Linked DNA regions of Homo sapiens: all the other regions are linked to region 1. Evidence: promoter capture Hi-C in 16 types of primary human blood cells and fetal thymus (Javierre and others, 2016). All regions are on one chromosome and are shown on one strand. The core of a region is centred on a gene start or on the middle of the fragment in contact, and the rest is flanking DNA. Distances in the headings are between cores, read along the strand shown. Region 1 holds the start of CAB39 (calcium binding protein 39). Region 2 overlaps FBXO36 (F-box protein 36). Region 3 has its middle 60 kb from the start of SP110. Region 4 overlaps SP110 (SP110 nuclear body protein).

The links. The method cuts DNA at HindIII sites, captures the fragments that hold promoters and counts their contacts. A CHiCAGO score of 5 or more calls a contact.
Region 2: a contact is called between a fragment that was not itself captured here and the fragment with the promoter of CAB39 in region 1, in 2 of 17 cell types (naive B cells and total CD4 T cells). The highest score is 6.2, in naive B cells.
Region 3: a fragment that was not itself captured here is called in contact with the fragment with the promoter of CAB39 in region 1 in 1 of 17 cell types (neutrophils); the score reaches 5.3 in neutrophils.
Region 4: a contact is called between a fragment that was not itself captured here and the fragment with the promoter of CAB39 in region 1, in 7 of 17 cell types (total B cells, naive B cells, non-activated CD4 T cells and 4 more). The highest score is 10.7, in total B cells.

Annotation. Positions count from the first base shown.
Region 1 is chr2:230,709,186-230,717,048 of GRCh38, forward strand. CAB39 (calcium binding protein 39) reads left to right here and starts at 3,657. Exons shown (of 9, transcript NM_016289.4): 1 at 3,657-4,045. LOC124907996 (formin-like protein 16) reads right to left here and starts at 4,141. Exons shown (of 4, transcript XM_047446832.1): 1 at 2,894-4,141. The coding sequence starts at 4,141. The coding sequence ends at 3,383. RefSeq lists a silencer at 3,429-4,368. The HindIII fragment of the contact is 1,861 bases long and covers 3,386-5,246 here.
Region 2 is chr2:230,009,991-230,017,853 of GRCh38, forward strand. It overlaps FBXO36 (F-box protein 36), which reads left to right. Exons shown (of 4, transcript NM_174899.5): 4 at 706-3,129. The coding sequence ends at 894. Among named protein-coding and RNA genes, the nearest start is that of SLC16A14, 55 kb to the right of the region's middle. The HindIII fragment of the contact is 292 bases long and covers 2,528-2,819 here.
Region 3 is chr2:230,155,719-230,163,581 of GRCh38, forward strand. No RefSeq gene overlaps it. Among named protein-coding and RNA genes, the nearest start is that of SP110, 60 kb to the right of the region's middle. RefSeq lists a silencer at 4,608-4,677. The HindIII fragment of the contact is 2,209 bases long and covers 3,252-5,460 here.
Region 4 is chr2:230,192,242-230,200,104 of GRCh38, forward strand. The region is part of intron 10 of SP110 (SP110 nuclear body protein); the gene reads right to left. It also overlaps a transcript of SP140 not described here. Among named protein-coding and RNA genes, the nearest start is that of SP110, 24 kb to the right of the region's middle. The HindIII fragment of the contact is 2,348 bases long and covers 1,604-3,951 here.

The sequences.
Region 1 (7,863 bases), core at 2,407-4,906:
CTGCAACTTCCAACTCCCAGGTTCAAGCGATTCTCCTGCCTCAGCCTCCCAAGTAGCTGGGATTATAGGCATGTGCCACCACGCCTGGCTAATTTTTTGTATTTAGTAGAGATCACCTGAGTGGATCACCTGAGATCTTCTTTCCTTCTCTTTCTTTTTTTTTTTTTTAACATAGTCTCCCTCTGTCACCCAGGCTGGACGGCAGTGGTGTGATCTCAGCTCACTGAAACCTCCATCTCCTGGGTTCAAGCAATTCTCCTGCCTCACTCTCCGGAATAGCTGGGATTACAGCCATGCAACACCACGCCCTGCTAATTTTTGTATTTTTGGTAGAGATGGGGTTTCACCATGTTGGCCAGACTAGTTTCGACCTCCTGGCCTCAAGTGATCCACCTGCCTCTGCCTCTCAAGGTGCCAGGATTATAGGCATGAGCCCCCTCACCTGGCCAGATTTTCCTGGATCTCTTCCTACCAAACTGGCTCCTCCCTCTCAGGGTTCTTTGCTGGTTCCTTACCATTCCCTGACCTGTCATTGTTGGGGGACTGGGCTTAGTAGTAACACTCACATCCTAAAGGATCTCACTGAATTCAGAGGTTTTACCTACTCTGAGAACCACCTAAATTCTGTCTGTGGCCCAGACTTCTCCTCTGAAGTCTTCTTTTTTTTTTTTTTTTTTTTTTTTTGAGCCGAGTCTCGCTCTGTCACCCAGACTGGAGTGCAGTGGCGCAATCTCAGCTCAATGCAACCTCTGCCTCCCAGGTTCAAGCAATTCTCCTGCCTCAGTCTCCAGAGTAGCTCGGACCACTGGCGCACGCCACCACACCCGGCTAATTTTTGTATTTTTATTAGAGACGGGGTTTCACCATGTTAGTCAGGCTGGTCTCCAACTCCTGACCACAGGTGATCCGCCTGCCTCAGCCTCCCAAAGTGCTAGGATTACAGGCGTGAGCCACCGCGCCAGGACTTCTCCTCTGAACTCTTAAGTCCAACTTCCAACTTGGGTGTCCAACAGGCAGCTCAAACTTTGTATGTCCCTAAGTAAATTTCCAAGTTCCTCCCTTCACATCTGTTTCTGCTTAAATTTTCCCCATATCACCAAATTGTATTTTCCAGTTGCTTGAGAAAAAAAAAAATTAGAAATCAGGAAAATCCTTTTAGCTTTACCCTTTATTTATTTATTTTTTTTCTTGAGTCAGGGTCTCACTCTGTGGCCCAGGCTGGAGTGACAGTGGCACAGTCACAGCTCACCGTAGCCCCGACTCTCCAGGCTTAAGTGATCCTCCCACCTCAGCCTCTGGAGTAGCTGGGACTACAGGCACATGCTACCACGCCTGGCTAATTTTTTTTTCTAGAGACAGGAGTCTCACTATGTTGCCCAGACTGGTCTCCAACTCCTGGCCTCAAGTGATCCTTCCTCCTCTGCCTCCCAAAGTGGTGGGATTACAAGCGTGAGCCACCTTTTATTATTATTATTATTATTGAGACTGAGTACTGCTCTATTGCCCAGGCTGGAGTGCAGTGGCACAATCTTGGCTCATTGCAATCTCCCCTTACTGCAACCTTTGCCTCCCGGGTTCAAGCGATTCTCCTGTCTCAGCCTCCCGAATAGCTGGGATTACAGGTGCCCGCCACCATGCCCAGCTAATTTTTGTGTTTTTAGTAGAGACAGGGTTTCACCATGTTGGGCATGGTGATCTCGAACTGACCTCAAATGATCCTCCCACCTTGGACTCCCAAAGTGTTGGGATTCCAGGCGTGAGCCACCTTTTAAACGTGTCTACAGGTGATCATTTTACTCTTCTACTGCCACCACCCTGGACAGAGCCTTATCTTTTTTTTTTTTTTTTTTTTTTTTTGAGATGGAGTCTCCCTCTATCGCCCAGGCTGGAGTGCAGTGGCGCGATTTCGGCTCACTGCAACCTCCGCCTCCCGGGTTCAAGCAATTCTCCAGCCTCAGCCTCCCAAGTAGCTGGGGTTATTTTTGTATTTGTAGTAGAGACGGGGTTTCAACATACTGGTCAGACTGGTCTCGAACTCCTGACCTCAGGTGATCCCCCTGCTTCGGCCTTCCAAAGTGCTGGGGTTACAGGTGCGAGCCACCACGCCCGGCCGGACAGTCTTATCTTTTGGCTGGCTGATTTCAACAGGCTTCTCGCTGGTCCCCCTGCTGAAACCCTCAGGGCTTTCAGTCTGGTCCTCATACCACAGCCACAGGGATCCTCCTGAAATGTCATTCCACGTCCTTTCTCTGCTCGCAACCCTTCAAATTGCTTCCCATCTCCTTGAGAGTAAAAACAGGAAGTCCTAACTTTGGTTGGTAGGGCCGCACTTCTTCCTCATCTCTTCCCCTATCTGGGGCCGCTTTCAAGCCAGCAGATTCTCGCCTCAGGGCCTTGGTCCTGCTATTCCCTCTGCCTTTCCATACAGAAAGCTCCCAGGCTCTCTCTCTCCAGGAAGCTGCTCCCTGAATGAACACTGTAAATAACAACACCCTGCTTTCTCTCCCCTCCTCACCCAGTGGTGTTTTTAACTGTCCAGTATTTGTTTTTTTGTTGTTGTTTTTTGTTTGTTTTGTTTTTGTTTTTTGGAGATAGTCTCGCTGCGTCGCCCAGGCTGGAGTGCAGTGGCGCGATCTCGGCTCACTGTAACCTCCGCCTCCCGGGTTCAAGCGATTCTCCTGCCTCAGCCTCCTAAGTACCTGGGAATACAGACGCCCGCCACCACGCCCGGCTAATTGTTTTTTGTATTTTTAGTAGAGATGGGGTTTCACGGTGTTGGCCAGGCTGGTCTTGAACTCCTGACCTCGTGATCCGCCCACCTCGGCCTCCCAAAGTGCTGGGATTACAGGCGTGAGCCACCGCGCCTGGCCCAATTGTCCAGTATTATACATACCTGTAGGTTTATTAGTCAATTATTTGTCAACTGTTTGTGCTAGGAGCATGGACTGTTTCGCTCACTGCCCCATCCCTGACGTACAGGAGGCGCTTAAAAAGTAGTTCAGTTACACATTAAAAACAAAGAAACAAAAATACACACATATGGCATTTGTATGTGCCAGGCTCCGTTGTCAGAGCTTTGCAATGCACTGTCCCGTTCATCCTCAGAAGCCCGTGGCTGGTACCACTATATTATTACACACTTTTTTTTTTAATGTGTGAGGAAATCCAGGCACAGGGACGTGAAACAGCCCATAGATAGCAAATGGTGGAGCAGGACTTAAATCCAGGTTGCTGATTTAAATAGGAATATTCCCATTAATCTGGAACGTTCTGGCACTTGTCCCCCTGGATGCTGTGTCCCCCTGGATGCTAAAATGAAGCGATCTGCTCCAAGAAAGTAAGAATCGGTCTGCACAAAGTGGGATCCCGGCCTCTCGCAGAATTAAGCTTGAAGAGTTGAGGAAGTGGTCGTTGAAAGTGGGCGTGCGATTCCCGCAGTAAGAGCGCTCAGGCGGAGGAGAAAGGGCTGAGCCCCGCCTTGGAAGCTGCGGCGGAGGAAGAGGAACTGCGGGGCTTGGCTTCTGCTTTTCTCTGCGGCCCCTCCCGCTCGGGCCTCGCGCCTACTTGCGGCGCCCTGAGTCCGCCGGCCGCTCGGGGGCGCCCGAGGCGGAAGGGGGCGTTGCGGCACCGCCCGACGTCGCGTCCTCGGCGGCTGCGCAGTGCGCACGTCAAAGCCGGGCTCGGGCCGCAAGCGGGGCGAGGGGTTCGGGGAGCGGCGCGGCCTGGGAGACACAGAGCCTTCAGGCGCCGGGGCGGGGGCACAGGCGAAGACTAAGGCGGCGCCGGGCCCCACAGCAGCAGCCGCAGCCCAAGCGAGCGCAGCAGCGCGGCGGCAGCCGCGGGAGCCCCTGGGCAGCCGTCCGCCCGCGCAGCCGCCGCCGCCGCGGGAGCCCGTCGCCGGGAGCAGGAGCGGGCGGAAGACAACGGAGGGGCCGAGCGTCCGAGCCACTCCGCGGGGACCGAACGAGCAGCCCGAAGCGGCGGCGGCCGAGGACGGGGACAGCGACGACGCGGAGGCAGAGAAGGGAACGCCCGGCCCAGCCCCGTGAGTGACCCCCGGCCGGCCCTGCTCGTGGTGCGGACGCCTGCCCGGCTTCCGCCTGCCCCGCTGGGCCCTCACCGGCCCCGGGGCTGCCTCCATTTTCCTGGGTGGCGGCGGCCCCGGCCCAGCTTGTCCCCGGAGCCCCCGGGAGCAGCCGGGCCCAGCCTGCCCTCTCCGCCCGGCTCGGCTCCGGTCCCTCGCTGAGACGCTCCCTTTGCCTTCGCCGGCGTGGGGCGCCCGGGGGCCTGCAGTCCAGGCGCTCCTGCCTCTCCCCCCGTGGTTCTCTGGCGGGGCTGGCGGCGCGTGGTGGTCCGGGCCGGAGTCGGGCGGGCGGGGAAGTGCGGGCCGGGTCAACTGTCACCGGCTGCACCCGGGCTTCAGCGCCTCGCTCCCGCCCCTGGTAAACTTCCTGTTGTCGGGAGGCAGATACCAGCTTTGTGACCAATTCAGGAAAATGCCTAACTGATTTCTGGTTAGGAATTGGGCGGTCGGAGCGTTCTGGAGTTCAATGGAACCACCCCAAGCGCAGACTGCGTGCAGGCGCCGTAGTCGGCCCGCACCGGAGGGATTCAAAGGTGAAGCGGGCCCCGGTCCCCTCCCCCGAGGAGCTTAGGCTCTGGTGTGAGAGATAAGACGAGAACACAAATAACTGCGATACCGGGAAGGAGGTGATAAGTCCTGTGAAAGAACGACGGAGTGCTAGAACGGCACCCGGAAAAACCGAACCGATCACTTCTGCCTCGCAGAAACCTGGAAGGCTTCCTGGGCGGGGGATGCTGAGCAGAGTCTTGAAGGCCTGATGGGATTTAGGAGAGGAGGATTGCAGAAGAGGTGTGTGGAAGGGGTAGCAAAAGCGAGAAGACAAAGCCTAGAAATCATGGATAATTCCGTTTGTTGGCATGGTGCAGGGGGCGGGGGGTATTGGGCTAAAGAGGTATTTTGGGGCCAGATCCTTGAATGCTGTAGAGGAGCTATTTGAGCAGCATTCTAAGAGAAACTTAGAGCTCATTTCTCAGTGACTCATGAGCCCGGAAATGTAGGCTAGGGGATATTAAAGGCGCTCTTGTGAAAGGAGAGAGGAGGAGGCCCAGTCAGGAGTTGACATTCTGTGCCTTGAATGTAATGCAGTTTCAGATCGATTTTGACAGCTTCCCAGATAATCAAGTAAATCCATGCCCAGGCTAAGCAAAGTACCTTTGCAGAAAGCTTCATTAGATATCAGGCTCTTAAGAGGTAATGGAAAGGTGTCTATAAAATAAGCTCATCTGCACACAGAAGGTGTTTCTATTTGTGCGTTCGCTACAGTGCATAAAAACTTCTTGCACTTTGTATTAGGCGTATGTACTTTGGAATTACTAAGCTAAACCTACATTCTTTGAGGTGGCATTTGTGTAAAATAACATAAATTGATGATTTTTAAAAAATGGTTAGTAATATTCTGCTGTAGAAAGCCAGACGTAGACCTTTTACAGAAAGGTAAAACTTTGTTTTTATATTTTATTTTATTATGAAATCTTTATAGTAGAGCCAGAAGTGAAAGTGTTTAGCTTTATTTTGTAGTTTGTTCAAATTGTTAGGAAGTAATTAGCAGCTGTATTCGAAATCTAGAATATACGATCTGTGAAAGCAGCTTAGGGCCTAAGTTTTGTAAGCTTGCACTTGTTTGCGTGTATGACAAGTGAATGCCACCTTTTTGCAGTTTAAAAATTTTCTGCTTTTCAAAATAATACATGATCTTTGTCAAAGCTTCCAAAATTCAGGGAGTGCTAGAAAATCTTTAAAACATTTTCTATAATCTTACCACTTAGATTTGGTTACTGCTAACATTTTTGCGTATTTTCTTTCCAGTCTTTTTCTGTGTATTTTTTCTTTGCATAATGAAATATATTGTATGCATATGTATACACACACACATCTCTTATTAAGCTTTTCTTGTCATTAAATATCTTCATATAAAAAATTTTTACTCAACAATGGAAGTCTTCTAAGCATGTTATGTTTTCCTGACAAGGTTGTATTATTTACCTCAGATGAAATGCAGTAGTTAGGCTTAATAACTACTAGTGTGGACAGAACTTTTTCTGAAAGTTTCTTGTTTGAAGTATGTTTCTTTCTCTGTAAGACTTGGATCCTCTTGCTTGTTGAATAAAGTTTTTCTTGGCAGGATGTGTGTTGTCATGAGGTGTGGAAGAGGAAGAAAGCACACAGATCTCTGCTATAGGAGTGAATGGACTTTTAAAGGGATGTTGTCAAAAGATTACTGTCATGGCTGGTATACCATCCCCCACAGACGGCGATGCAGTGTCCCTTCCCACTCCCCACTTCGCTCCTGAAAAATAGTCTCTACACTAGGGCCATCCATATAGGTTAACTATTTTTTGAACATGACATCACGAAGACTCAGGCTGGATATAAGCATAGAATATTTCATGAAATGGTTTGCTACTATAACAAATGGGTGGTATTTGCCTTTTTGGTTTTGTTTTGTTTTTTGAGACAGGTTCTCACTCGGTCGCTCAGGCCGGAGTGCAGTGGTGCGAACATGGCTCACTGCAACCTCAACCTCCTGGGCTCAAGCCATCCTCTCACCTCAGCCTCCTGTAGACGGGACCACAGGCTCGTACCATCACATCCGGCTAATTTTTGTATTTTTATAGAGACAGGGTCTTGCCATGTTTCCCAGGCTGGTCTTGAACTGCTGGGCTCAAGTAATCTCGCCTTGTCCTCCCAAAGTGCAGGGATTACAGGCGTGAGCCACCACGCTTGCCTGGATATCTGTTTTTTTATTTCAAGGCAGCTTACTTCCCTTCATTAGCATTTTCTACTTCAGGTTCTTGTACTAAGTCAGTTTTTTCCCATGTATTTTACATTCTAAGGTGTATTAATAAGATCTCTGTTTCTGTTTCATCACGTATGAAGTAAGATGCTGAGTAAGGCTGTATACGTTTCCTAAAGTTAATGTAGAAGAACTGCTAAGAAAGTCCAGTATAAGTATGGGGTTTGGTAACTTGATTTTATTTGAATGTTTGTATATTGCAAATACGTATGCCACACAGGGTCTTTATTACCTTGGAATATTTACTAAAGTTTTCTGTTTTGATCAACTTTTGTGGGATTACAGATTTCTTTAGTTATTGCCATACTTTCCCAAGAGCCTTTTTTCCAGATTGATGACTAATCACTCACAGTTTAGCCATCTGCCATGAAAATACACAAATCCAACCTCCCCAACCCCCAAAAATAAAATTCAGTAGTAGGACGAATTTTGTTTCAGGTATTGTCTTTTGTTTACCTTTCTGGCATTGTTTCTATTCCAGCTCTATTTTATTTTTTAATTTAAAAAATGTTTTAATTAAAAGAGATGGTGTCTCATTCTGTTGCCCAGGCTGGTCTTGAACTCCTGGGCTTATGCCATCCTCCTGCCCCAGCCTCCCAAAGCACTGGGATTATAGGCCTGACCACACTGGCCTCCAGCCCTATTTTAAAAGGTCAGGCCGAGCGGGGTAGCTCACTCCTATAATCCCAGTGCTTTGGGAGGCCAAGGTGGGAGGATTGCTTGAGCCCAAGAGTTGGAGGCCGATCTGAGCAACATAGCAAGACCCTATATCCACAAAAATAAAAAATTAGCCGGGCATGGTGGTGTGTGTGCCTGTTGTCCTAGCTACTCAAGAGGCTGAGGCAGGAGGGATTGCCTGAGCCCAGGAATTTGCAGCCTCAGTGAATTTTGATCACTGCATTGCAGCCTGAGGTGACAGAGTGATACCCCATCTCAAAAAATGTATATATAAAATAAAAATAATAAAAATAAAAATTCATTTTCC
Region 2 (7,863 bases), core at 1,424-3,923, 700 kb before region 1:
GTGGCTCACGCCTGTAATCCCAGCACTTTGGGAGGCCAAGGTGGGCAGATCACCTGAGGTCGGGAGCTCAAGACCAGCCTGACCAACATGGAGAAACCCTGTCTCTACTAAAAATACAAAATTAGCTCAGTGTGGTGGCGCATGCCTGTAATCCCAGCTACTTGGGAGGCTGAGGCAGGAGAATCACTTGAACCCAGGAGGCAGAGATTGCAGTAAGCCGAGATTGCGCCATTGCACTCCAGCCTGGGCAACAAGAGCAAAACTCCATCTCAAAAATAAAAATAAAAATAAATAAATACATACATAGATAAATAGAGATGAATTGGAATTAACTAGAGGCAACAAACTTCATCCAGATGTTGACAGTGACTGATGGGACTTGGCCGCAGTGGGGTGGGGGTGAAGGTGGAGAATAACACATTTTCCCTTGCACGAGGGAGTGTTGTGTTGCCTGGTGTTGGTAGGAGGATGTTCTTTCTACTGCCGTCACTGGGAAGTTTAAGTGTGTGCAGAAGGGTATGTCCTTTAGATATATGTGCACTTACATATTTGTGTCTGGCTGTTTTCCTCAAAGAGGAGGTTTCTCAAGGCAGGACCTGTGTCTGGCACAGGTAGTGTTTCTCCAGTGTCCCACAGGCAGCAAGAGTTTGATAATGAGTTAACACATGTGTGCTGTAACCCACCTCTGACTTTTCCCACCCACAGCTGTGCATGTCTGATAAACTGTGGGAACAGATAGTCCAGTCGACCTGCGACACCATCACTCCTGACGTGAGGGCCCTGGCGGAGGACACAGGCTGGAGACAGCTGTTCTTCACCAACAAGCTCCAGCTCCAGCGGCAGCTCCGCAAGAGGAAACAAAAATATGGAAACCTGAGAGAAAAGCAACCTTAGGCACACATTTTCCTACCAGCAGGGAGCTCAGGCATGGCTGTGTTTCTCTTCAGTGTCCAAATCTCTTCTGTCTCCTTTTCTTAAGAACTAAGAGGTTTTGTTGATGCGTGGAGCCATTTGAAACTCGTAGGGGATTTGCACACAAATGCAGCAGAGTCTGGCTCCCCAGTGCCTTGCTAGAGTCACCGTCATTCTGAGGTCAAATCATGGCCCGAGGACAAGGGCTGTAAGACAGGGAGCCCCATAGGCCATCATCATCCTTATCCCACACCCATTATAAAAGAGGTTTCTATTGTATATAAACAAACAATAAATGATTATTAGCAGGTTTTTATTAGACATCTATTTTATCTAGGCATTAGAAAGGGTAATGGGGCTTTTGAATTTTTTCCTGGCATTGTGTCGTCTGCGTCCAGCCATGAAGCTGGTGGCTGAGTGTCCCCACCAGGAACTGTGAAGGGCACGTACCACGGGAGGCACTCAGGGTGGGTGCAGCTGCCTTCCCAACTTTGTTCTGCTAAGTCCATATTCAGGGCCCTATCCTTGTGAGCCCAGGATGCCAGGGTCCATCCCCGCATGTAGACAGCTTCCGACCTGGTGCTGGAGCATGACTGGAGAAGTGCAGGCATCCTGCTTGCGGACCTTGCTCAAAGTACAACTTCCCAGGACTACTTCACATTGTTAAATAAACCTATAAACATTTCTTTTCTTTTCTTTTTTTTTTTTTTTTTGTATTTTCTTTTTAGTAGAGGTGGAGTTTCGCCATGTAGGCCAGGCTGGTCTTGAACTCCTGACCTCAAGTGATCTACCTGCTCTGGCTTCCAAAGTGCTGGGATTACAGGCATGAGCCACTATGTCTGGCTAAAACCTATAAACATTTCTTAGAGAAATGCTGTTCCCCAAAGGAATGTGAACAGCTACCACTTTTAACAAGGATATTTAAGAAAACAGACTATGAGTTAACTAAGTAAAAATGTAAATATGGTTTGCATGCTGTTAACATGGCAGAGGGGTAAAAAGAATACAGTCCTGGGGAGAAAGGTCACTTCACTGAGAAGGCTTACTTAAAAATGTTTTTCTCCCTGCACTTTCATGATTATTAAGTACCCCTAGAAAATGAACTCATAGCAGCAAATAATCTAATGACTCCTTTTAGGTTACAGAGCAAAGTAGCTTTCTACTTCCACATCACATTATAATATAGCCTTATAATTTCTTCTTTCCTGCAACCTTCACTTTCCTACCTAGGAAAACTCACCTCCGGTGCCAGAGAAACTTCCCAGGATGCACTAGGGCCCTGTGAACAATACAGAAGTTGTGGACTCTGGCTCTTTGTCCCACCTAAGTCCTTCCAGAAGGGCTCTACAGCATGGCTTAGTGACATTAAAAAAAAAAACTGAACCCATGTTAATATCAAACAAGATTTTAATCTTCATTCACACACCCTTAAAACCCAGTCACGGGGCTCCCCGGTGCCAGTTTGAGACCGTCAACCTAGCCCTCTCTGCTTCTCATTGCTGGAGGTACACACAGTCAAAAGTTTTCCGTGACTGTGAAATCCAGTGCAATCTGCTTCCCAGCAGATGAGGAGCCTGACGTGGTTATGTCTGGATTTAGTCCAAGAACAGAGCAAAGCTTTAATTGTCAAGAGACCCAGGCCTCATTCTCCACTTAGGAGAGTTTGCTAGGGCAGGTACAGGTAAAGGTAACCAGCAGGCAGCTGAGAGCAAGAAGGCACGTGCTCTGCAGAGCTCTAGCTGCCTTGGCTCTCCCTGAGCTCCCAGACTTCACTCATGGCCTAATTTTCAATGACAGAACGTAGGTTTTATCGTGAGGATGCAGACACAACCACAATTACGTATGTCAACATAACTTCATAAATATGTAACTGTAACTTATTGGTAACATCAGTGCAAGATGATTAAAGCTTCATGTGTAGTATTTTATCAACAAACAGATTCTGAAAGCTTATGGACATGCGCAATAGTTGATTCAGCTTCAATCAATAAGAACATAAATATGGCAATTTGAAAACACTATGTATATACCTACTCACATATATATTATACTTACGATATATACTTATATGTAGTATATAATAATATTACATATAAAAATGTTATAAAAATAAATGCTAAAGTAAATAAAAAAAGAGCCATTAATATGTTAACTATTGTTAAATAATAGCTAAAATAATACAGATTATTAAATTATTTTAATACTTACTTGCCATAATAATCTGAGTGCCTTATTACTTGATTACAATTGTTTTTGCCAAAATAGGAACAATATCATCAAGTGAACATCCTGTGTCTCCCCAGCATCCTCAGTGGTTGAAACACTTTGTCCCTCCCTCCCCCATCTCATTTTCCATGTGAGGTTCCATGTGACGATCCCATAACATGGTAATAGGCAGCGATGGTCTTGACTTTCTGCTTCTATTAACAGCTTTCATTTCTATTTCTGCTTTCATGTGGATGGATAAATCTGCTTTATGTCTTAACATTTCAGAGTGAAATGCCACACAATTTTTTTTTTTTTTTTTTTTTGAGGCAGAGTTTTGCTCTTTTCACCCAGGCTGGAGTGCAATGGTGCAATCTCAGTTCATGGAACCCTCCACCTCCTGGGTTCAAGTGATTCTCCTGCCTCAGTTTCCCGAGTAGCTGGGATTATAGGAGCCTGCCACAATGCCCTGCTAATTTTTGTATTTTTAGTAAAAACAGGGTTTCACCATGTTGGCCAGGCTGGTCTCGAACTCTTGACCTCACGTGACCTGCCCGCCTCAGCCTCCCAAAGTGCTGGAATTACAGGTGTGAGCCACGCTGCCCAGCCTTACAGCATTTTATAATCTTGTCCTTTTTCATCTTTTCAATCAACTGTGTTTCTACTCTGTTCTCATTTACCATTGTAATTATACAATACTGAAAATTTCCAATGGTTTATATATTTAGTGGTATAAGAACAATCTATTAACAATAGAAAATACATATTTTTAATTTATAACTAAATAATAAACATATTTTACTTAATGTCAAGTTCTACTACTACTTTTTTCCCAAACAGGTTGGCATATGTATGCATTAAGCCTCAGCAATATAGAATCCAAAATTTTTTCATTCTTTTTTTTTTTTGAGACAGAATCTTGCTGCTGTCGCCCAGGCTGGAGTGCAATGGTACAATCTCGGCTCACTGCAATCTCTGCCTCCTGGGTTCAAGCAATTCTCCTGCCTCAGCCTCCCAAGTAGCTGGGATTACAGACATGTGCCACCATACCGGGCTAATTTTTGTATTTTTAATAGAGACAGAGTTTCACCATGTTGGCCAGGCTGGTCTCAAACTCCTTACCTCGTCATCCACCCACCTTGGCCTCCCAAAGTGCTGGGATTACAGGCATGAGCCACCGTGCCCGGCCTAAAATGTTTTCTTCTACTGAGTAGGCCCCAGAACTAAGGCTGAGGTGATCATGTGGGGAGGGACTGCAAGCAGGGGTAAGGACAATGCACCAGGTACCACTTGTCATTGTTTTGTGAGCTGCTTGTGTATATAATGGTTATCAGTCTTTATTTATTACCCCAAACTGACTCCTGAAATACCGAAGAATAATATAAAACAACCTTACTAAAAACAGAAAAGTTCATCACAGTTTTTTGCTCTGAGTTTTAGTATAATGACCTCTATCTTCAGTTTGTATTAATATACTGTGAGAGCGTATCCAAGCTTTTCAATTGTGAGTAGTTGGTTTCAACTTGAAATGGATGTCTTTGATGTCATGTTAAAAACATCAAGTGATAAAAAATATCTTGAGACAAATGACAATGGAAACACAATATCAAAAGCAATCTAAGAGGGAAGTTTATAGCAATAAATGCCTATATTAAAAAAGAAGAAAGACCCCAGGCCAGGTGCAGTGGCTCATTCCTCTAATCATGGCACTTTGGGAAGCTGAAACGGGAGGATCCTTTGAGCCCAGGAGTTCAAGACCAGCCTGGGCAATATAAGGAGACCCTGTCTCTACAAAAAATAAAAAGATCAGCCCAGCATGGTGGCACAGGCCTGTGGTCCCAGCTACTTGGGAGGCTGAGGTGAGAGGATCGCTTGAGCCCAGAGGTCGAAGCTCTAGTGAGCTGTGATCACACCCCTGCACTCCAGGCTGGGCAACAGAGTAAGACTGTTTCAAAAAAAAAAAAAAAGGAAAAAGAAATACCCTAAATAAATAGCCTAACATTACATCTCAAGGAGCCAGTAGAAGAACAAACTAAATCCAAAGTTAGCAGAAGGAAGGAAATAAAGATTCGAACAGAAAAAATCAAATAGAGAACAGAAAAACCATAGGAAAAACTCAATAAAACCAAGAGTTAGTTCTTCGAAAAAATAAACAAAATCAGCAAACCCCTAGCTAAACTAAGGAAAAAAGAAGACTCAAATAAAATCAGAGATGAAAGTGGAGCCATTCCAACAGATGCCTCAGAAATAAAAGGAATCATAAGGGACTATTATGAATAATTATATGCCAACAAATTGTATAACCTAGAAGAAATGGATAAGTTCCTAGAAAAGTATAACCCACCAAGATTGAATTGATGAGAAATAGAAAGCTTGAACAGAATAACAAGTGAAGAGATTGAAGAAGCAATTAAAAACCTTCCAGTGAAGAAAATCTCAGGACCAGATGGCTTTCGTGGTTGATTTCTACAAACATACAAAGAAGAATTGTCACCAATACTTCTTAAAGACTTCCGAATAATAGAGCTAGAGGGAATACTTCCAAACATATTTTATGAGACCAGCATCATCTTGATACCAAAGCCAGACAAAAACACAAGACAAGAAAAGAAAACTTCAGGCCAGCATCTCTGATGAGCATTGATGCGAAAATCCTTCATAAAATATTAGAAAACTGAATTCAACAACACAAAAAGATTGTACATCAAGACAAAGTGAGATTTATCTCTGGCATGCAAAGCAGGTTTGACATACACAAATCAATCAGTGTGATACATTATCTTAACAGAATGAAAGAGAAAATACATAATTATCTTAATTGACAAACATTTGACAAAGTTCAGTATCCTTTCTTAATGAAAACTTAACTATGTATAGAAGGAAAGTTCCTCAACATAATAAAGGCAGTTTACAAAGACCTCACAGCTAACAACATAACCAACAAGGAAAAACTGAAAACTTTTTCCACTAAGATCCAGTACAAGGCAGGGATGCTCACATTCACCACTTCTATTCAACATAGTACTGCAAGTGCTTGCTAGCAAGAGCAATCAGACAAGAAAAAGAAAGAAAAACATCCAAGTTGAAAAGGAAGAAGTAAAATTATCTCTATTTGCAGATGACATGATTCTATAGGTAGAAAACCCCAAAGATTTGACAAAAAACTGTAACTAATAAATGAAGTCAGTAAAGTTGCAGGATACAAAATCAACATACAAAAAAATCAGTAGCATATCTATACACAATTCTTTTTCTAGCTGAAAAAGAATTCAAGAAACCAGTCACATTTACGACAGCATCACAAACTAAAATATCTGGCCAGGTGCGGTGGCTCATGCCTGTAATTCCAGTACTTTGGGAGGCCGAGGTGGGTGGATCACCCGAGGTCAGGAGTTCAAGACCAACATGGTGAAACCCTATCTCTGCTAAAAATACAAAAAAATTGCAGGGTGTGGTGGCAGGCGCCTGTAATCCCAGCTACTCAGGAGGCTGAGGCAGGAGAATTGCTTGAACCCAGGAGGCAGAGGTTGCAGTGAGTCAAGATTGTACCACTGCACACCAGCCTGGGTGACAGAGCAAGACTGTCAAAAAAAAAAAAAAAGAAAAAACAAACTTAAAATATCTGGGAACAAATTTAGTCAAGGACATGAAGGATTGATACACTGAAAACTATAAAACTGATGAAAGAAATCAAAGAAGACACAAATAAATACATATATTCATGGATGGGAAAATTTAATATTGTTCAAATGTCTGTATTACCTAAAGAAATATGCAGATTTAATACAGTGCCTATCAAAATTCCCAAGGACATTCTTCACAGAAATAGAAAAAAAAAAAAAAAAAAGCCTGGGTAGTATAACAAGACCCTGTCTCTTAAAGAAAAAAAAGTTAAAAATTAGCTGGGTGTGGTGGTGCATGCCTGCAGTCCCACATACCATGGAGCTGAGGCAGGAGGATTGTTTGAGCCTAAGAGTTCAAGGTTGCAGTGAGCTATGATCATGCTACTGCACTCCAGCCTGGGCAACAGAGCAAGGTCTTGTCTCTAAGTAAAATAATAAAGAAAAAAATCCTGAAATTAATATAGAACCACAAAATACTTAGAATAGCCAAAGCAATACTGAGAGAAAATGTTTGAGGCCTCACACTTCCTGATTTAAAATTATATTATAGAGCTATACTAATCAAAACACTATAGTACTGGCAGAAAAACGGAAACATAGACCAATGGAACAAAATTGAAAGCCCAGAAATAAGTCCAAACACATAGGATCAATTAATTCTCAACAAGGGCACCAAGAGGACAAAATGGGGATAGGATAATGTCTTCAATAAATGGTGCTGGGAAAACTAGATTGCCACTGCAAAAGAATGAAATTTGACCCTTACCTTACACCATACATAAAACTCAACTCAAAATGGATAAAAGACCTAAATGTAAGACCTGAAACCATAAAACTTCTAGGCGAAAACTCCTCCTCCTGGGCTCAGTCCTTGACATAGGCCTTGGCAATGATTTTTTGGATATCATACCAAAAAACCAGGCTACGAAAGCAAAAATAAATAAATGGGATGATACCAAACTAAAAAACCTTTGCAGAGCAAAGGAAACAATCAACAAAATGAAAAGGCAGCTTACAGACTAGAAAACAATATTTGCAAACCACATATCTGATAAGGAGTTAATATCCAAAATGTATAAAGAACTCTTACAACTCAATAACAAAAAAACAAATAACCCTATTA
Region 3 (7,863 bases), core at 3,106-5,605, 550 kb before region 1:
ACTATCTGTCTGCAAAAGAAAACTTTATAGAATCTAATTCTGGAGGCAGGCATTTCTTTAGCCTAATAAAGCCCAAGCCAGGTTAGTGGTTGTCAAGAAATAGTATTTGTTGAAATAGACCAGGTTAGATAGTTCAACAGAAGAAAGTCAAGTAGAAGGATGATGAATCTCTCCTGGGGATCAGGATGATGTGTTAGAAGGAAATTAAATTTTCAGGGTAAGGTTTTTTTTTTTGGAGATAGGGTCTCCCTTTTGCCACCCAGGCTGGAGTGCAGTGGGGTGATCTTGGTCCACTGTAGCCTTGACCTCCTGGCTCAAACAATCCTCCTACCTCAGCCTCCTGAGTAGCTGGGACTACAGGCGTGCGCCACCACACCCAGCAAATTTTTATTTTTATTTTTTTGTAGAAGAGATGGGGGTGCGGGGGTGGGGGGCGGTCTCACTATCTTGCCCAGTCTGGTCTTGAACTCCTGGGCTCAAGCAATCCTCCCTCCTTGGCCTCCCAAAGTGCTGGGATTAGAGGTGTGAGCCACCACGCCTGGCTGGGTTTATTTTGATTTTAGGTATTTTAGGACAGAAGCTGAAGCCCAGTGTTCACTCCAACACCCCCCTCCTGAATCCCAAAAAGTCTGGGTGGTGAAAACTTGATCCTTTGAAAGCCCCAGCCCCCACCCCATCTCCCCTCCTCACCTGGACCCTTGGCAGTGGGGGTCCCAGGGCTTCTTTCAGGAAGTCCTGTCTCAGGGCGTCCTCTGGCCTCTGGTTCTCAGCTCCAATCCCTGCTGTCTTCCCCGCCTTCCCCACGAAGCACAGAGTCAGGCATTTCTTCCCTGGGCCTGTCCACACTCCTCACTGCTTCCTTGAGAGAACAACGACCCCAGCTCCAGTCCAGGAGGGACTGTGGGCCTAGAGGGGCCGCTGGCTAGGGGCTGAGAGGAGCTCCCGGAGGTGTGGTTCCCGAGACTGGTCTTCTCCTGTTCTATTTTCCTGGGTGTCATTTTCACGGCAGGAAACCTTTTTAGAAAGGGAGGGAGGCACATTTTTCTCAGGGACATTCACAGCAAGGCCTCATCCTGCCCACGTCCCACAGCCGCAGGATTTTCTGGCCTGGTCCTGTTCTGGATCTGCCTGATTCTCAAGGCACAGCAGCAGGGGAGGGCGGGCTCCGCACCCTGGTCAAGCTAGGGCAGGCGCTTGGCTTGCCAGCAAAAGGTCCCGCTTCCCAGGACAAAGACTCGCTCTGAGGCCGCACTTAAGTCAGGCTCCTCGAAGCTCTCTTTCAACGGGGCCTCAACCCTGGGCTTCTGTGCCTGTCATCGTTGGGCCTGCATCAGCCAGTTTTAGCAAGTCCCTCCTAAGTCAGTGTGGAGAGAGGCCCCCATCCTTCGCATCTGACCACCCTGGCCTGCCTTCAGCAAGAATCCTAAGCCTGTTTAACCAGAAGCTTTCCTTCCCCCTGCTGCTTTCTCTTAGTAATTTCCTCCATCCCGACTGCCAGCCTGCTCCATGGCTATAAATCCCCACTCGTTCTGGTTGAATTAACCACTGAGTCCGTTCTATATGCACTGAGGCCTCTTTCCCCCTTTGCAATACTTCCTGAATAAAATGTGCTTTTCCTACTTTACCTACTGTCAGGTCCTGGGTTTCTTTAACAGGAGGGCAACCTTCAGACTGGGTCCAGGTCAGTGACATAGAAGGGGAAGTGGCACAGTGTGTCCACAGAGGGCAGAGCCCAGTGACGGGAGCTCACAGCAGAGACGCCCAGGCTGCATTCGGGAGGGCAGTGGCACCGATGAGAGGGGCATAGGCAAGGACACCACGGGGCAGGATGCAGAAGGGAGTCCTGGGGCAGAACCAGAGCGGGAGCCCAGCCCATCAAACATCAAGACGTGGCCTGGTGCATGGGGAGTGAGATTCCAGTGACCCAATGGGGACCAGGAGTCGGGAGATGCTGCTCGGAGAAGCTCCGGACCTGCAAACCAGCCTGCTCAGACTGACTGGGAGCCTAGAGGCATTCATTCATTCATCCATTCATTCTACAAATCTGTATTAAGCGCTGATGAGTTTGACGGTAGGGATATACCAACAAACAAAAGAGATAAAAAATTTTGTCCCTGTGGAGCTTACATGATAGTGACAAGAGACAGACACCAAACACAATAAACAAATCATGTTGCGTGTTAGAACATGATAAATGGGATATTTTGGGGGAAGAAAGGACACACGTGAGAGGGAGCAGGAGAGCCAGGTGTGGGAGGTTGCAGCATTAGGGGTGGTTGGAGCAGGCTCCCCCAGGGACATTTGAGCAAAAACATTAAAGATGTGAGGGTGAACTGTGGGGACTTCCAGGGGGAGGAAGCTCCAGACCCAGGGGATTGCTGGTGTAAAGGCCTTGAGGCAGGAGTGGCCTGGGTTCCAGGGAGGCCAGTGGGTGCAGCAGACCTACGAGGGAGGGGAGAAGCCCCTCATACAGGCCTCAGAGGGGGTGCTCTCACCCTGAAGGTGGAGTAGGTAGGATTGGACTCATCTTAACAGGCTAAGTCTGGCTGCCATATTGAGAATAGGCTTTGGGGGTAGGGGTTGGGGTTGTGACGTGTGTTGGGTGGGGTAGGAACAGGCCATGTACCACTGCCATTAAAGCATTTCAACTGGGGACCTGTTAATATTCTTAACTGCTCCCCTGCATTTCACAGCTGCCTGTATCCAAATACAATGGGGCCACCTGACAGCACACCTCAGGGTGACTTCATGTTCAAATATAATATCAACCCAATATCCAATAAAAAGCTTCAAAAATCATGCCAACATCTTAAGTCCCTCAAGGCGGTGTCAAAGCAGGAGCCAATCCATGACCTACCGAGAGAGGAGAAAGGAAGAAGCCAGTCAGGCAGGCAGTTAGGGTGGGCCCTCAGTTAAATTCTTTCAAACAAAAGAACAGCCAACTTGCACAGAGGGGCTTGCCTAAGACACGCCCACAGCCACATAGATAAGAAAAGCTACACAGGTGACTCACCCAGACACGCCTGCAGTGGAAAGTTCTGTCCCGTAACACATGTACAGTAAGGGGAACAAAGCAATATGGAGTCACTAAGCTAAGGGCCCACATGCACACTTGGAGGATGGGGTGGAGCTAACAGAAATTTGTGTCTTATGCAAATGAGATGCCCAGCCCTCATCAGTTTCTTATAAAAGCCTTTGCATTCAACTGTAAAGACAGCAACCCTCTTCTGGGCCCCCTCTCCATGGCAGAAAGCTTTCTTCTTTTGCTTAGAAAACTTTTGCTCCAATCTCACCTTTTGTGTCCACACTCCTTAATTCTCTGGGTCATGAGACAAAGAACTCCAGGTAATACGTCACAACGAGAGACTGCTACGTCGTGGTGCATTGGTGAGACTTTAACACTAAAAGAGAATACCGTGTGGGCCACCTCCACTCATCCATCTCTCTCTGAAGTTCTCATGACCATGGCTCAATATTAATCTCCTCCCTCCATCCACATGCTTGCTCCCTGCACCCCCAAATCTCATCTGCCCAGCTGCTTTTTTATTTAGTTCCCTTCTCAGTTTAGTTTTTTCTTCTGCAGTTGGCTTCACATTCTATTCTTATTACTGTTTCTGAAAGCTGTTAATAAATAAACAATTAAACTACAAAACATTACAATTAAACAAACCAAGCAATCAACCAAACAATAAACTCTCGGTTGTCACCTCACAGGACAAGGACAGCTCTTGTGATTAAGTTGCAGGCTCTACTGCTGCCCACACCACAGATACCTTAGTTAGATTTGCTCCTTTGTCAAATGTTTAAGTCAGATAAAGGACCAGTCGTAGGGCAGTGGATCTCAAACCTAATTGTGGCAAAACAAAACAAAACAAACAAACAAAAATCACCTAGAAAACTTGTTCAACTGGTTAAAAACACAGATTCCTGGGCCTGAATCCTAGAGATTCCCACCCAGAGCCAACATCCCAGAATCTGCATTTTAGGCAAGCTCCCTGTGATTCTGAAGCAGCGGGCCATAGGCAATTCATTGGGAAGCGGTCAGTGTCCAGATATCTCAGAGGACCCCTCTCTAAGCACTCTTGATTGGTCCCAAAGACCCCCCTTCCCCCAGTAGGCTGGCTTCTTCACCCTGTCCTCATCCTCTAGCATCCCCGAGAGGAGGTCACCTGGGACATTCTTGCAAATGGGAGGATCTAGAATCCAGGTCTCTGCCTGCTGCCGGCCATCCCCAGGCGGGCCTCCTACCAGATTCCAATCTATGAAACGAAAAACTGGGGATCCTTTTCCAGCCCACGTTACTGAGTGCATCTCAGTTGTTTCATTATGCTAGCTGTGAGGTTTTGCACTTGTGACAAACAACAGAAGGGACCTTTTGTCACAGTAAGGAAATCCTCGCAAGCATGTGCCTAAACGTGACTGCCTGCTGCTTCGTCTTTGCCAGTCTCATCTGGAGAGGACCTGGCGCATGCTCTTGGTTGGTTTTCCTCCATCTGCATGAAATAGGAGCCACTGAGAGCATCTTCCTCCCCTTCAAAGCCTTCACTACTTCTTTCTGCTAGTTCCTTGTCCTTGCAGGAGCTTTAATAGCTCAATTCCTTTCCGTCTCTGGAGGGGCCCACAGTGCCCTCTGGTGGTTGAACAGCATGCTACACTTTTTTTTTTTTTTTTTTTTTTGTGGGGTAGGGAGAGGGTGGACAGAGTCTCCTGTCGCCCAGGCAGGAGTGCAGTGGTGCAATCTCGGCTCACTGCAACCTCCGCCACCCCGCCACAGGCTCAAGCGATTCCCTTGCCTCAGCCTCCCAAGTAGCTGGGATTACAGGTGTACACCACCACACTGGGCTAATTTCTGTATTCTTAGTAGAGTTTCACCATCTTGGCCAGGCTGGTCTTGAACTCCTAGCCTCAAGTGATCCACCCGCCTCCTCCCAAAGTGCTGAGATTACAGGCTTGAGCCACCGTGCCTGGCCTATGGCACACTTTTGTAGAAGTCCAGGGTGCCTGCTGCTCTCAGGGCTAGGTCCTGTGCCCATCCTGGGAGAATGGGAAAGCCTCTGTATGCATTCTGCTCTGCCTGAGCCCTCCACAGAGCCAGAACCAGGCCTAGGGGTTCAAGGGTAAACTTCTTTGAGGAACTGGAAACTGAGATGATGATGAGATTAGGGATTGGCTATGAATACAAACTGGGTCATGGTCCAGATACAGAAACATCAAAATCTGACCTGTGGGCTCTGTCTGGGAAAATTTAGGGCAAATTGGCACTTGTAGGTGGCAAGGAGTGGCTTGTTTACCCTGCCCTCCTCACTGTCCCTTGTTTGGACCAATTCTGCCTTCTTAGGAGGACATGACAATTCTTCCCCCAGGATCCTAGGATGCACTGAAGCCTCTAGTTTTTTCCTGCTGGTGAGTACTAACATATGCCCATTAACTTGAATGCTTATCTTTCACTGGCCAAGACCAAGCTTTGACAGGTACCCCCAGAGCACTTTCATAGGCCCGTGAGTCAATTCTGAACCAAGTCATGGGGGCAGCTGAGTCAGCTCCCCTCAATCCCGGCCTTGATAGCTGGGCACAGTTGTGGCCCGGGGTCTGAATGCTGCAACCACAGTGCTTAAGGTCTGGGTTGTGGAAGCTGGAGAACCACTGCTGGGCCTGAAGGCTGGAAACCTCGCTGTTGCCCTTGCGAAATAAGGACATTTCCACTTTATCCCCTAGGGCAGAGCATTTAGTGAGTCAAAACCTTAACTCCACATCCAACAGACTCTGTTTCAGAACAGTGTGTCAGATGCTTCAGTATCAGCTGACATCCTGGACGTGTAACCACCCCTTTCTGCTCATACTTGGGCCTTGTGTCCAGGTCTGGGTGACTGTCCTCACCATTGAGTTTTTGCTTGAGGCCCCGGGCTGTCTTCTGGAAAGTGGCTATCATGGGTTCCTCAGGGTTCTACCCAACCTCTCTGTAAATGATCAGACGCCAGTAGCTGCTAAAGGGGAAAAGTGTCCCCTCTGCCAATGCATCTGAGCTCTGGTCTTGTCCAATGGGGATGACTGGTGCCAGGTTGCCTGGAGTCCTGTGCTGGGAGGGACTTCGCCAGGTGGTCTTCCTTGTTCTAGATGGTTCTGGAGATTCAAATGGCCCAGTTGAGACCAGAGGTGAAGAGAGCAAGACAGTGCCTTCTTGATTTCATTATTTCACATGTCACTTCATAGGGGAATGACTGCTAAAATGAATACGGTCTGTGCATTTTTTCTAAGTCACAATTACAGAAGAGATAGAATGACAGGAGAGTTGTGAATCCCATAGTCCCCACACCTAATTTCAAGAGGGGAGGAGTTCCATTGGAGCAGCTTTGGGACGAAAGAGAAGCAGTCAGGGTCCTCAGGGCTCAGGGCAGGAAAGCAAAGAGTCCAAGGCACCTGCCAGGACTGACCCCGCCCACCGACTCCCATAACTACTTGCAGAATGTGAGCTTGCTCTGAAGGCCTGGCTCTACCAGAGCTTGGAAAGCATCTGAGAAATGTACCCACTCCAGATGTTGATGCCAATGAAGTCTACCTCTCCTGAGGGAGGCTGCACTTCACCAGGAGACAATGTCTCCCCAGTTTCTAAGAATGAATCTTCCAAGGTGGAATTTCTGCTATCAGCTAGAGGGGGGAATGTATTTTTACATGTAATTCCTCCAGTCATTCCTGATAAGAAAGCTTTTTTTGTTGTTCCATTTTTGCAACCTTTTGGAGTCATGTAAAACCTCCCACATCATAACCTGAAGGTAGTCCTGAGCTGATGCAGGCTCCCTGGCCAGTTGGGGAGGAAAGGGTTCAGGAAAGAGTGGAACCCAGCTGGATCAGATGGGAGAAATTGAAGCAGTGTTGTTCACCTGGGGTAATACTTGAGGTTTGTGGTCTCATGCCAAGGAAATCAAGAACATGGACACACCTGGAGTGAGATTAAGAGTGGACGTTTGGCCGGGCGCGGTGGCTCACGCCTGTAATGCTAGCACTTTGGGAGGATGAGGCAGGTGGATCACCAGGTCAGGAGATAGAGACCATCCTGGCTAATATGGTGAAACCCCGTCTCTACCAAAAATACAAAAAATTAGCCGGGCGTGGTGGTGGGCGCCTGTAGTCCCAGCTACTTGGGAGGCTGAGGCAGGAGAATGGCGTGAACCCGGGAGGCAGAGCTTGTAGTGAGCCAAGATTGCACCACTGCACTCCAGCCTGGGCGACAGAGCGAGACTCTGTCTCAGAAAAAAAAAAAAAAAAGAAAGAGTGGAGGTTTAATAGGCAAAAGAAAGAGAAAAAAGAATAACTCTCCTGCAGAGAGAGAGGAGTGCCCAAGTGGGTCTTCCAGCCCACGCCAAAATGCACCGGATTTTATAGACTGGCTTGAGGAGGCAGTGTCTGATTTACATAGGGCCCACAGATTGGTTGGACCACATGTGACATTTACATAGCACAGGAGGAAGTTGGCCACCCCACCCTAATCTTATTATTATGCAAATGGGTTTTCTACTTGGTCAGCACCATGTTGTCTGCTCCTTACTGTACATGTGGTTGGCAAGGAAAAGGGAAGATGGAGCCACCGTGTTGGACATGCCTGGCTCCCAGATAGCCCTTTCCCATTGGCACAGCTGCCGGCATTCACCCGTGCAAGCTTCCAGCTTGCTTATCTATGTCTGCAGCTCAATTTTACAGGCTGCTTTTTGTTAGAAAAGAAATGACTTGGGGGCTGCTTTTCATTAAAAGGAAAACCTCAGCGAGGACTTCCTTACCCTCACTATCTGCCTAAATAATTTCTTTTTAACGCCTATGTTATTATGGCCTGGGTGCAGGACTGGAATGGGTCCCTGGAGAGAGGCAATT
Region 4 (7,863 bases), core at 1,528-4,027, 520 kb before region 1:
TCTCACCATTCCTATTCAACATAGTATTAGAAGTTCTGGCCAGCACAATCAGGCAAGAGAAAGAAATAAAGCGTATTCAAATAGGAAGAGAGGAAGTCAAGTTGTTTCTGTTTGCAGATGACATGATTATATACTTAGAAAACCCCATCATCTCAGCCCAAAAACTTCTCGAACTGATAAGCAACTTCAACAAAGTCTCAGGATACAAAATCAATGTGCAAAAATCACAAGTATGCCTTTACACCAACAATAGGCAAGCAGAGAGCCAAATCATGATGAACTACCATTCACAATCACTACAAAGAGAATAAAATACCTAGGAATACAGCTAACAGAGGATGGGAAGGACCTCTTCAAGGAGAACTACAAACCACTCCTCAAGGAAATAAGAGAGGACACAAATGGAAAAACATTCCATCTTCATGGATAAGAAGAATCAATATCTTGGAAATGGCCATACTGCCCAAAGTAATTTATAGATTCAATGTTATTCCCATCAAACTATAATTTCAATTTATAAAAATTTATTGAGACTTGTTTTGTGGCTATCATATGGTCTATCTTGGAGAATGTTCCATGTGCTGATGAGAAGAATGTAATCTTCTGTAAATATCTATTAGGTCCATTTGTTCTAGAGTGTAGTTTACATCTATTGTTTCTTTTTTGACTTTCTGTCTCAATGATCTCTCTGGTGCTGACAGTGGAATACTGAAGTTCCCCACTATTATTGTGTTGTTGTCTTATCTCTTTTCTTAGGTCTAGTAGTAAATGTCTTATGAATCTGGGAGCTCCAGTGTTAGCTACATCTAAATTTAGGACTGTAATATCTTCCTGTTAGATTGATCCTTTTATCATTATATAATGACCTTCTTTGCCTTTTTTTACTGTTGTTGCTTTAAAGTCTGTTTTATCTGATATGAGAAAAGCTACTCCTGTTTACTTTTGGTTTCCATTTGCATGGAATATCTTTTTTCACCCTTATACCTTGAATTTATATGGGTCCTTGTGTGTTAAGTGAGTCTCTTGAAGATAGCAGATATTTGGTTTGTGATTTTGTATCCATTCTGCCAATCTGTATCTTTTAAGTGGAGCATTTAGGCCCATTTATGTTGAACATTAATATCAAGATGTGAGGTACTGTTTCAGTCATCATGTTAATTGTTACCTACATACGTTGTTTTCTTCATTGTGTTATTGTTTTATAGACCTTGTGAGTTTTATGCTTTCAAGAGTTTGTATTCTGGTGCATATCAATCTTTCGTTTCAAGAGTTAGAACTCCTTTTGGCATTTCTTATAAAGCTGGTCTGGTAGTGACAAATTCCCTCAGCATTTGTTTGTCTAAAAATGACTTTATTTCTCCTTCATTCATAAAACTTAGCTTTGCCAGATACAAAATTCTTGGCTGAGAGTTATTCTGTTTAAGGAGACTAAAGATAAGACTCCAATCCCTTCCAGCTTGTAAGGTTTCTGCTGAGGAATCATGTATTTTTCATCCTTGCAAATAGTAAAGATTTCCCTGACTATTACATCAATAGGTTTCAGGGGGAGGGCAGATGCTTGCTAGAATTGAGAAGCCACTGCTCAGTTGGGGCCATTTTGGCAAGCTTAGACAAAATCTTGAAGCACAGTATTTGTTGGGAGCAAAGAGGAATTTATAAATTCCAAAAATTACCTGTACCTATCAAAAGAAAACTTTGGAGGTCTGAATGTCAAGTTTTCCTATAAGTCATTGGTAGTGAACACTCAGCAAATGACAGAGAGTATGTTTCCTCCAGCCTAGGGAGGCAGTGGGGTGGGGAACTAGGAAGAAGAGGCCAGGGAGGGGAAGTGCAAGCAGGCAGATATGACTTTCCTTCTAGGCCAAACCCCAAGATTGAGGCATGCTGGGAACAAGCAGAAAAATTAGAGGGCTTTCCAAAGCAGTGAGCCTCATGTCCTAATTCATGTTTGGGAGCTGGGACAAGATCTCTTCCCAGGCTGGCTCCCATAAAGGTACAGAATCCAAGAGAATCCCCACTGACCGGCATATCTTAGGCCCTTTGTGAATAATTTTGAGTAAAAGAATAAAGAAAAAGGGGCCAGGTGCAGGGGCTCACACCTGTATCCGAGAACTTTGGGAGGCTAGGGCAAGAGGATCACTTGAGGCCAGGATTTCAAGACCAGCCTGGACAACATAGCAAGACCTGGTCTATACAAAAAATTTACAAAATAAATTAAAAAAAGAAAAAGGGAAAAAGAAAGGAACAGAAAGGGAAGAGGGAGAGAATACAGAGGAGAAAAAGAAAAGTGGGATGAAGCAGAGGAACCAGAAAAATGCAGCTTTTTTGTTTCTTATTCTGCAAGTAACACAGTTTGTGCACTGGAGTAGACACATGCATGCAGGCATGCAAGCAAGCATGGGTTGACTGAGGTAGTTCTGAACACTCTATGACTCCAAATCTAATCCAGTTTGGAACTGAAAGTCTGAATCCTGCTTGGGGATTTAGGTTTCTTGTGTCTATTCTTCTGGGCTCTGACCCTAGACAGGAAACAATTCTAATCTCAAAATTGTCTGATGCCTCATGTCCACCTCAACCCCATTCCCTCCCTATGATAAGAGAAAAGAAGACTAGGTATAAACCAAGTTGGTGTTAGGTTTGCTCTTCCTTTGTTGGGGAGTCTACTGATGGGGTGGCCTAGGGGACAAGGTTGGGGCTGGCTGTGCTCCAGGCACATGTGGCTGGAGAGGAGGTCATGCCAGCTGGTCAGGTGAGGGGCCTGATAAACACCAAGAGAGTAACAATTTCACTTTTCTTCCTTATGTCTTGGGCATTTTTTTTTTCTGTTTTCTTTTTGAACTTGGCCATATTCTTTTCTCCTTTTTTCTAAAAAAGAAAAAACCCACATCTTTTATGGCTACAAATATTGATCTACAAACCTGCAATGTCATTACTTTTTTAAGTAATTTTTTTCCTGTTTTCCCTGACTTTGAGAAGGCAAGAAAACCATGTGACCTATGTGAAAAAAGTACTCCATTTTAGCTGGAAATTGAATTAGGGGATTGAATAAAGATGGATCAGGAATATACTAGAGGACTAACATTTAATATATGTCATTTAAAAAGTTTTTTGGGGACAGAGTCTTGTTCTGTTATGCAGGCTGGAGTGCAGTGGCATAATCTCAGCTCACTGCAATCTCCACATCCTGGGTCCAAGTGATTATCGCACCTCAGCCTCCTGAGTAGCTGGCATAACAGGTATGCACCCCCAGGCTAACTTTTGCATTTTTAGTAGAGACGGGGTTTCACCATGTTGGCCAGGCTGGTCTTGAACTCCTGGACTCAAGTGAACCTCCTGCCTCAGCCTCCCAAGGTGCTGGGATTACAGGCATGAGCCGGCATGCCTTATTAATTTTAAAATTAATAAGCAGTTTTTCAAGACTAGACAAAGATTGTTATAAACCATGGATATTAAAAGGTTTCCTAGCCAAAATTCAGGGCCAGAAATTACACAGTTATGAGATAAACAGATTTGAATGTTTAAAAAATTAAAAATATACAGAAGGAGCAGGACTGAAAAAAACTGTTCACAGTTCAAAAAACACCCCGACACTATTAAAGCAAAAACAAAATTTAAATATACATAGCATATAGAAGGTTAATATCCTTATTAGATAAAGCAAAAGATGAATGGTAATCTAGGAAAATAAGCAAAAAATATAAGTTAAAAATGCTCAAGGAGGAAATGAAGATGACAAATTTATTTAGAAATCATCTCTATATTACTACTAATCAAAGAAACTCATTGTTTGGATGTTAAGGATACCTAAACATTTAAAAAGTTTTATTACATCCAGCATTGAGGATGTAGGAAATGAATACTCATATATTGTTAAAGGGAATATAAATCATTATGTTTTCTGGACAGCAAATTGGTAACATGTATAATTAAGATATAGATTTTAACCAAGTAAGCTTGTGTTTAAGAATCAATTCTAAGGAAATTATTGGACAAGTGTGCAAAGATACAAATACACACAAACCTGATTTCTATTTTCATATAAAAATAAGAAATAAACTGTCCACTAGTAGGTGATTATTTAAACAAATTGCGGTGAATCATACGTAACGTGCCATGCAGTTAAAAAAATAGATAACATTGATACAGAGATGATACACAATGAAAAAAGTGATTTATAGAATAGACTATATAGTATGAGCTTATATATAAAAAGAAAAATGTATGCATACTTATACAAAAATAAAGTGGGGGAAGCAGATTAAATAGATGTTTAACTTTATGATTTATAATTTTCTTTTTTTTAAAATTTTATTATTATATTTTAAGTTTTAGGGTACATGTGCACAATGTGCAGGTTTGTTACATATGTATACATGTGCCATGTTGGTATGCTGCACCCATTAACTCGTCATTTAGCATTAGGTATATCTCCTAATGCTATCCCTCCCTCCTCCCCGCACCCCACAACAGTCCCCAGAGTGTGATGTTCCCCTTCCTGTGTCCATGTGCTCTCATTGTTCAATTCCCACCTATGAGTGAGAACATGCAGTGTTTGGTTTTTTGTCCTTGCAATAGTTTGCAGAGAATGATGGTTTCCAGTTTCATCCATGTCCCTACAAAGGACATGAACTCATCATTTTTTATGGCTGCATAGTATTCCATGGTGTATATATGCCACATTTTCTTAATCCAGTCTATCGTTGTTGGACATTTGGGTTGGTTCCAAGTCTTTGCTATTGTGAATAGTGCCACAATAAACATACGTGTGCATGTGTCTTTATAGCAGCATGATTTATAATCCTTTGGGTATATACCCGGTAATGGGATGGCTGGGTCAAATGGTATTTCTAGTCCCAGATCCCTGAGGAATCACCACACCGATTTCCACAATGGTTGAACTAGTGTACAGTCCCACCAACAGTGTAAAAGTGTTCCTATTTCTCCACATCCTCTCCAGCACCTGTTGTTTCCTGACTTTTTAATGATTGCCATTCTAACTGGTGTGAGATGGTATCTCATTGTGGTTTTGATTTGCATTTCTCTGATGGCCAGTGATGATGAGCATTTTTTCATGTGTTTTTTGGCTGCATAAATGTCTTCTTTTGAGAAGTGTCTGTTCATATCCTTCGCCCACTTTTTGATGGGGTTGTTTGTTTTTTTCTTGTAAATTTGTTTGAGTTAATTGTAGATTCTGGATATTAGCCCTTTGTCAGATGAGTAGGTTGCGAAAATTTTCTCCCATTTTGTAGGTTGCCTGTTCACTCTGATGGTAGTTTCTTTTGCTGTGCAGAAGCTCTTTAGTTTAATTAGATCCCATTTGTCAATTTTGTCTTTTGTTGCCATTGCTTTTGGTGTTTTAGACATGAAGTCCTTGCCCATGCCTATATCCTGAATGGTATTGCTTAGGTTTTCTTCTAGGGTTTTTATGGTTTTAGGTCTAACATGTAAGTCTTTAATCCATCTTGAATTAATTTTTGTATAAGGTGTAAGGAAGGGATCCAGTTTCAGCTTTCTACATATGGCTAGCCAGTTTTCCCAGCACCATTTATTAAATAGGGAATCCTTTCCCCATATAATTTTCTTTTTCTTTGTTTTGAGACAGGGTCTTACTACATTGTCAAGCTGGTTTCAAACTCCTGGGCTCAAGCAATTCTCCCATGTTGGCCTCCCAAAGTGCTGGGATTACAGGTGTGAGCTACCATGCCTAGCCTGATTTACAATTTTCTACACTGAAGATTTTATTAGGAATATTGTATCACACAAGACAGGGTAGGCTGTGCTGCAGTAACAAATGAAACCAAATTTTGGTGGTTTAACATTGAAAAGTGTATTTCTCTATCACATGAAGTTCTCTGTAGGACAATAGGACCCTCTGTAGGACTGGAAGTCCTCTGTAGGGCCCTCCAGGGCTGCTGTCCTCTATGTGGTAGGTCATGCTGCTTTGGCCTTCTGGCGCCTCCCTCTTCCACACACTTCCACAGGCGGGAAAAGAATGTGGAGAGCTGCAATGGGCTCTTACATGCTGTGACCCAGAAGTGACACCCATCTCTCTGGCTTATTTGCCAGAGCTAGTATAGCAGAGCTGCCTCCTGCAAGGGGGATGATAATGGAGCTTTCCAAGTGTCTGGGAAGGGGAGAAGAATTGGAACTAGAGGAGGGCAGTCATAATGCCCACCATAAACATGGGCAGGGTGAGCACTGCTAGTTGTTCCTCTTTCTCTGGTCTCCCTTTTTCTTTAGTAATAAAGCCCCTGATTCTGAGCCCCTTATTCTTATAGATTAAAGATTACATTTCCCAGCCTCCTTTGAAGTCAGGTGTGGCCGTGCAACCAGTCCTGGCAATAAAATGATAGAATTTTTTTTTCTTTTTTGAGATGGAGTCTTGCTCTGTTGCCCAGGCTGGAGTGCAGTGGCATGATCTTGGCTCACTGCAACCTCTGCCTCCTGGGTTCAAGCAATTCTCCTGTCTCAGCCTCCTGAGTAGCTGGGATTACAGGTGCACACCACCAGGCTCAGCTAATTTTTTTTGTATTTTTAGCAGAGATGGGGTTTCACCATGTTGGCCAGACTGGTCTTGAACTTCCAACCTGAAGTGATCCACCCACCTCGGCCTCCCAATAGCAAATTATTAATGATAGCAAATTACTATCTGTGACCGGAAGCATTTAGAGTCCTTCAGTGGAGGAGGTGTGCCCTTCTTTGACTTTGCCATTTTCTCTTTAGCTGGAACATAGACATGCTGGCTGGACCTCAATAAAGGGGATGCCACATGCTGAGGATGATGGAGCCACATGCTGAGGATGATGGAGCAACAAGCAAGAATAAGCCCAGGACCCTACAGTGTATGACACCAGCTCTTGACCACCTACCTCTCTTGCTTTAGCTACTATTATTATTATTATTATTATTTTTTTTTTTTTTTAGTGGGGTGAGGTTTGCTGTCACACACAGCAACATAATCCTCTTTTTTTTTTTTTTTTTTTTTGAGACAGAGTCTCACTCTGTCACCTAGGCTAGAGTGTAGTGGTGTGATCTTGGCTCGCTGCAACCTCTGCCTCCTGGGTTCAAGCGATTCTCCTTCCTCAGCCTCCCATGTAGCTGGGATTACAGGCGCCCACCACCACGCCTGGCTAGTTTTTGTATTTTTAGTAGAGACAGGGTTTCATCATGCTGGCCAGGCTGGTCTCGAACTCCTGGCCTCAAGTGATTCACCTACCTCAGCTTCCCAAAGTGCTGGGATTATAGGCATGAGCCACTGTGCTGGGCCAGCAACATAATCCTAATGGTGACAGCACACTGCTTTTAGAAAAGTCCAGGAACTTTTCTATGTTGAAAAAAAGTGAAATCATGATTTTAAAAAGCATAACGCTTTTTCTGGCTTGGATGTCTTTTATGGCCTAGAATGGCATAATAACAGTAAGGTAACATCAATCCACACCACAGAGACCAAATAGTTTCTTCTTCACACTTATGCTCTGCCCTGGGAGATTTTCCCAGAGAGAGTTTATTTCCATTATCCATAGGATCTTGGAAGTAATGAGAAAGTAATTTTTGAATAAGCAGTTTTCTATTTTGGGCAATAGTGAATTGACAAAGGTTTGACAGTATTCTTTCTGCCCCTTCCTTTCTATGGAGAACGATGGCTCCTGAAAAGAGTTCCTGGGGACCAGGTTGTTAACCCGGTGGCAGCCAGCCCTTACCCAGGGGATCCTGAAAAAAATCCATTAATCCTTTCCATATCTTAATTTCCTCATCTGCTAAATTGGAATAGGTCATTCAATCTTCTCCAAGGGTGGTTGTGAAAATAAAATAAAATTATCCATGAGAAAAGTTGAAATACTACTAGATAAGCCAGTGCAATAT